Regions from separate parts of the Homo sapiens genome. Here region 2 is linked to region 1. Evidence: promoter capture Hi-C in human tissues and cell types (Jung and others, 2019). All regions are on one chromosome and are shown on one strand. The core of a region is centred on a gene start or on the middle of the fragment in contact, and the rest is flanking DNA. Distances in the headings are between cores, read along the strand shown. Region 1 holds the start of ZNF551 (zinc finger protein 551). Region 2 has its middle 4.8 kb from the start of ZNF544.

Evidence for each region. The method cuts DNA at HindIII sites, captures the fragments that hold promoters and counts their contacts. A contact is called where the count stands out against the background at its distance.
Region 2: a fragment that was not itself captured here is called in contact with the fragment with the promoter of ZNF551 in region 1 in 1 of the 25 tissues and cell types used here (dorsolateral prefrontal cortex).

The regions. Positions count from the first base shown.
Region 1 is chr19:57,680,044-57,683,501 of GRCh38, forward strand. ZNF551 (zinc finger protein 551) reads left to right here and starts at 1,934. Exons shown (of 3, transcript NM_138347.5): 1 at 1,934-2,201. The coding sequence starts at 2,121. RefSeq lists an enhancer at 1,626-2,249 and a silencer at 2,305-2,374. The HindIII fragment of the contact is 9,267 bases long and covers 1-3,458 here.
Region 2 is chr19:58,222,411-58,225,868 of GRCh38, forward strand. It overlaps the pseudogene LOC100419847. Among named protein-coding and RNA genes, the nearest start is that of ZNF544, 4.8 kb to the right of the region's middle. The HindIII fragment of the contact is 6,243 bases long and covers 1-3,458 here.

The sequences.
Region 1 (3,458 bases), core at 684-3,183:
CCAGCCTGGGTGACAGGCTCAAAAAAATTTTAAAAAGATGTTTATTGTAACTTCTAAGGGAGGAATTAATATTTTTTTTTTTTTTTGCTGGCAACTTTGATTAATTTAAACATACAAAAATTAGCTGGGCATGGTGGTGTATGCTTGTAACCCCAGCTACTCAGGAGGCTGAGGCAGGAGAATCGCTTGAACCCGGGAGGCAGAGGTTGCAGTGAGCTGAGATCGCGCCACTGCACTCCACCCTGGGAGACAGAGCAAGACACTGTCTCAAGAACAAAAACAAAAAAGCCCAGGCGCAGTGGCTCACCTGAGGTCAGGAGTTCAAGACCAGCCTGGCCAACATGGTAAAACCCTCGCTCTACTGAAAATACAGAAATTAGCCGGGCATGGTGCTGGCGCCTGTAGTGCCAGCCACTTGGGAGGCTGAGGCAGAAGAATTGCTTGAACCTGGGAGGTGGAACTTGTGGTGAGCCAAGATCAAGCCATTGCACTCTAGCCTGGGCAACAGAGTGAGACTCCGTCTGGGAAAAAAAAAAAAAAAAAGAACTGATAAACAAATTCACCTGTGTAGCTGAATTCAAAGTCAACATGCAAAAGTCAACATGTAAAACTCATATGCCCTTCCATACACTAACAATGAAAAATCTGAAAAGGAAATTAAGAAAACAATATCATTTGCAATAGTAATGTATATGGTCAAATGATCTCAACAAGGCTACCAAGACCACTCAATGGGGAAACGATGATCTTTTCAGCAAATGATGCTGGGAAAATGAAATATTCACATGCTAAGGAATGAAGGTGAACCCTTACCTAACACCAAAAACACAAATGAACTCAAAATGGACTAAAAACCTAAACATAAGACCCAAAACTATAAAACACTTAAAAGAAAATATAGGGTGAAAGTTTTATGACATTGAATTTGGCCATAATTTCTTGGATTTGACACCAAATACACATGTGACAAAAGAAAAATAGACCAATTAGACTTCATGAAAATTAAAACTTTAGTATATCAAACAATAACAAAGTGAAAGAGGAACCTATTTAATGAGAACAAAATACAGGTTGAATATCCCTGAGCCAAAAATCTAAAATCCAAAATGCTCCAAAATCCAAATTTTTTTTTTCTTTTTTTTTTTTTGGAGACGGAGTCTCCCCCTGTCGCCCAGGCTGGAGTGCAATGGCGTGATCTCGACTCACTGCAACCTCTGCCTCCCAGGTTCAAACGATTCTCCTGCCTCAGCCTCCCAAGTACTGGGATTACAGGCGCTCGCCACCATGCCCGGCTAATTTTTGTATTTTTAGTAGAGACAGGGTTTCACCATGTTGGCCAGGCTGGTCTCGAACTCCTGATCGCGTGATCCACCCACCTTGGCCTCCCAAAGTGCTGGGATTACAGGCGTGAACCACTGCGCCCGGCCCGCCCGACTAATTTTTGTATTTTTAGTAGAGATGGGGTTCCGCCATGTTGGCCAGCCTGGTCTCGAACTTCTGACCTCAGGTGATCCGCCCGCCTCGGCCTTCTAAAGTGCTGGGATTACAGGCGTGAGCCACCGCGCCCAACCCCCTGAAATAATATTTGTTTGCCTCTAGGGGCACCCTGAGCTTCGTGGAGTCTGAAATAATGTCTCTAAACACTTAAGTGATCAGTTACGGAAAACACTTCCCAGAAATCTGGGAAAAGCCCCTTTAAGAAGGAGTAAATACCTCCTTCTCCCCTAGAGGCCGAAGTCGCCATTTCCCTGCACGGGGCACAGCACCTCAGAATACAAGTTCGCAGAGGTCAAAGCAGTGGACACACTCCGAAGAGCTCCGTGGAGTTTTGGAAACTACATTATCCAGAGTGCAGAGCGCAAAACGGCGGCGGAGTTGAGCCAATGACAGCCCAGGATAGCAACACTTCCGCGCACGCGCAGCGCGACGGGCCGGAACTTCCGGCGTCCTCCTCGTGGCGGTCATTTTGGCCTCTGTCCTGTTTGTCCAGCCCGCCAGTTTCTGCAGTGGAGGTCGCGACTGAGGGACGGGACAGAGAAGTCGCGAAAGTGGGCCAGAGGTTCTGCGACACCACCTCGGGTGAGCTGCGCCAGGCCCGGGATAGGGACTGTTGTGTTCGAATGCCCGCCCCGGTCGGCCGCCGCTCCCCGCCTAGTCCACGGAGCTCAATGGCGGCAGTCGCGCTGAGGGACTCGGCTCAGGTGAGTTGTGCGTCCTCCGGGTCTCGCCTACCTCCCCCAGCAGAAGCCTTAAGGCCCAGTGAGGGATGCCTGCTCACAGCCCTGCAGCCCAGGCCCCAGTACCCTGGACAAGAAGGCGCTTGTGGATTGGACCCGTTTGTGACGCCCAGTGTGTACGGAAATGTGACGGGCAGTTGACTGGCGCGTGCAGAACTTGGAGCTGCGACTAAGCTGGGGGGGATTCAGGAGCCTGGGGTCCGTCTCGGGTCTGCAGGAACATAGAGTGAGGCAGAGTTGCACCTGACGAATTTGACGATTCTGAGGACACTGGCAGCCTTCGAGATTTGTGAACAGATAGGGACACTGGGCTAGGATTTCCTAAAGCTATCCAAAAGTTGCTCAGGGGAAGAACAGGCTGAAGAGAGGTAATAGTAGTTAGGCATAGGAAGACTGAGTTCTTGTCCAAGCTCACGCAGCTGGTAAAGTCAGCACTGAGAACTGAGGTGCGGAGATAGTGCAGCCAGCCCAGGCCACCTGGCTCCAAAACTGGACCAGGGTCATTGGGCGACCTGAGCCTCGCCACTCGTCTAGCCTTGGGCCCTGAGACTTTGAGCAAATACAAAGCCCAGAGTCTTAAGTCCAGGTTAGATTATATGAAGCTGTTGGCAGCCGGGGGAAAGGAGATGTAGAAGGTTGTCCAAGGCAAAGTTACCAGTATATGCTAAGTTTGGAGAGGAGGCTAAGATAGTTCAGGAACCTACAATTATTTTCTTTTCATGAGAACAGGGAGCAGTGTAGTAGAAGTCAGACCCGGAATGGTTCCCTGAGAAGTTGAGTTGTCTATTCGTTACTTAATAGTAACAGTGGGAGGTTTGGAGTGGAAGAGGGAGGTGATCTGGTTCTGGTCTTATTAGGCTCCCTGTGGCTGCAGCATGGGAAGCCAACTGAAGGATGAGGTGGGGAGACCTGGGAGGAGACTACTGGGATAGGCCAGGTGAATGTGATAGAATGTGATAGGCCAAAATGGTGGCTGTGAAGATGCGAGAAGCAGTTGGATTCTGGATTCATTTTTTAAGTAGGGCTGCCTGAATTTTTAGTTTTGAGAAAGAGAGTGGAGTCAGGGATGACTGAAAGGTTTTATTTTGGCAGTTAGAAGTGTGGAAGCTCCATCAACTAAGATGGGGAAGTACATAGTAGGAGTAGTTTTCATTTGGGATATCAGAAGTTTTATTTTTGACCTGCTAAGAGTATGAGAGCTTTCAGAGAATGGTTCATGGG
Region 2 (3,458 bases), core at 463-2,962, 540 kb after region 1:
ATACCATAAATTTAAAAAGAGAATAAACTATGTATTGAGAAAAATATTTGTTACACAAATGACAGACGAGATTAACATTGATAAACTATCATGAACGCCTATAAAGTGCCAAAAAAGAAAAAAATATTAATTAGACAAAACACAGAAAACAAAACCTCAAATAACCAGTAAGAATATGTAAAGATCCTGAAATCACAAGTAGCTAGGGAATACAAATTACACAAAATGTTACTTTTACCCAAAATACTGGCAAAATACAAAGGATAATACCCAATGCTGGAAAGAATAGGGACTATTATTCTCACTTTGGAAAGTAATTTGGTAATACCTAAGAGAATCAAAAATACACTTATCCTTCAACTTGTGCAGTCCCACTGGAGGGGCTCTGACCTATAGAAATGAAGGCACTAATTCTGGGTGTCCGGGGGTGTTTACTACAGTATTGTTTATGTTGTGTTTGGAAATAGAGAAGAGTGTGGGAGGTGAATGCTAGGATTTTACACTGAAAGAGGTGCAGATGAGGGGGAAGAAGTAGGCTGGAGCAAATTGAAAGTGATGTCTGCTATAATTAGTTAAGAGAAAATATGAATGTAAGGTTCAATGTATGAAGTTTTTTTTTTTCTTTTTCTTTTTTTTTTTTTTTTTTTAGACAGTCTTGCCCTGTTGCCCAGGCTGGAATGCAATGGCATGACCTTGGCTCACTGCAACCTCTGCCTCCCAGATTCAATCAATTCTCCTGCCTCAGCCTCCCGAGTAGCTGAGCCTCCCGCCACCATGCCTGGCTAATTGTTGTATTTTTAGTAGAGACAGGGTTTCACCGCGTTGGTCAGGCTGGTCTTGAACTCCTGACCTTGTGGTCTGCCCACTTCAGCCTCTCAAAGTGCTGGAATTACAGGCGTGAGCTACTGAGCCCAGCCACAAGGTATGAAGTTTTTCTAGACATGTAAAAGTGAGCATGCACTTGGGCAAAAACGAGAGTCATCCAAAAATGAAAACATAAGATTTAATTTCAGGATGGGAGTCTATGTCATCTTCTATTTGAATTTTCTGTTATTTCCTGAGTTCCAACTTTTTTCCACTCCAGATAATTCATACTATAATATTTCCATAAACCTGGCTCACAGAATAAAAGTTTGAAAAATAAGTTTATTTCAATAATCATTAGAAAAATTATAGTCGGGCACGGTGGCTCATGCCGGTAATCCCAGCACTTTGGGAGGCCGAGGCTGGCAGATCACGAGGTCAGGGATTCGAGACCAGCTGATCAACATAGTGAAACCCCGACTCTACTAAAAGTACAAAAATTAGCAGGGCGTGGTGGTGCGCGCCCATAATCCCAGCTACTCAGGAGGCTGAGGAAGGAGAATTGCTTGAACCTGGGAGGCAGAGGTTGCAGTGAGCCAAGATCGCACCACTGCACTCCAGCCTGGGCGACAGAACGAGACTCTGTCTCAAAAAAAAAAATTATGGAAGTGAAAAATTGTGCAAAAATGAGTGTGTACCAACTTTCTGTCAGAGCTTCACCTTAATCATCTAATAAGAAAGCAAACAAAAGATAAACTGTATAAGCATGCCAACAATAATCTTTATTTCTGCCATGTTTTACCCTTTAATATTCAGAAGAAAAGTCATACAGGAGGAAAATTTTATAACTATAGTAAATATAGACAACTTGAACAACACTAGATCTCTACTGGCCAAAAGGAAAAAACAAAAAACAACCCCCAGTATATCCCTAAATGTACACCAGAGAATCTTAAAAGATAAAATAATTTGGCCAGGCACGGTGGCTCCCGCCTGTAATCTCAGCACTTTGGGAGGCCGAGGTGGGCGGATCACGAGGTCAGGAGATCGAGACCATCCTGGCTAACACGGTGAAATTCCATCTGTACTAAAAATACAAAAACAAAATTAGCCAGGCATAGTGGCGGGGGTCTGTAATCCCAGCTACTCCAGAGGCTGAAGCAGGAGAGTGGCATGAACCCAGGAGGCGGAACTTGCAGTGAGCAGAGATCGCACCACTGCACTACAGCCTGGGCAACAAAGCAAGACTCAAAAAAAAAAATAAAATAATTCATGTGATTATAATAAATTTGAGAAAAACTTCTTTTATAGCTCTTGCCTTTCTCAAAGGGGGAGGACTCATCCTGGAGAGAAACCCCATGGATGTATTCAACATGGTAAATCTTTTTGATGGAGCTCTCACCTAGTTGCACATCACAACTTATACCAGATAGAAAATTTATGAATGTAATCAATGTGGAAAGTTTTTCAGCCTGGTGCTCCCACCTTGTTAGACGTATACTGAAGACTCTGGGAACATCGGGAACGTCAGAGAGCTTTCAGCAGGAGATCTCATCTAATTGGGCAATAGAAAACTCATACTGAAGAAAAACAATTCCATGTAATCAATGTGAGAAATATTTCAGTGACATCCTTGATTTTAATTGGCATCAGGGAAAGTGTAATAGAGAGAAGCCTTATGAATGTAGTCAAGGTAGGAAATCTTTCTATACAGCTCTGGCCTTGTTGCACATAAAATAACTCATACTGGAAAGAAGCTTCGTGACTGTAATCAGTGTTGGAAATGGTTCAGTTAGAGTTCTCACTTGTTGCTCATCAGATAAATCATACCGGTGAGAAACTGCGAGTGTCCTGAGTGTAGGAAATCAGCTGGAGCTGATTACTTATATGGCATCAGAGATTTCACATTAGAGAGAAACCTCATGAATGTCACTGGTGTGGAAAATCCCGCAGCAAGAATTCTCACCTTATTGAACAGCAAATAACTCATTCTGGAGAGAAGCCTATAAATGTAGTCAACGTGGAAAAACTTTCAGACAGAATTATTATTGTGTATGCACCAAAAAATTCATATGGGCAAAAGCCAACATGAATGTCTAAATGTGAAAAAGCCTTCAGGAGACTATCTGACCTTATGGAACACCAGATCATTCATAATAGAGAGAAACTGTATGCATATAATCAGTGCAGAAAGGCCTTTCAGGCAGCATTCTAATCATGTCAGGCACCAGATAACTCATTCTTGAGTCAAACTGTTAATGAACTTTTTATTTATTTTATTTTATTTTTGAGATGGAGTCTCGCTCTGTTGCCCAGGCTGGAGTGCAGTGGCGTGATCTCGGCTCACTGCAAGCTCCGCCTCCTGGGTTCACGTCATTCTCCTGCCTCAGCCTCCCAAGTAGCTGGGACTACAGGTGCCCGCCACCATGCCCGGCTAATTTTTTGTATTTTTTTTTTGAGATGGAGTCTCCCTGTTGCCCAGGCTGGAGTGTGGTGACACAATCTCAGCTCACTGCAACCTCCACCTCCCGGGTTCAAGCTATTCTCCTGCCTCAGCCTCCCGAGTAGCAGGGATTACAGACACACACCACCATGCCCAGCTAATTTTTTTGTATTTTTAGTAGAGACGGGGTTTCACCATGATGGCCAAGCTG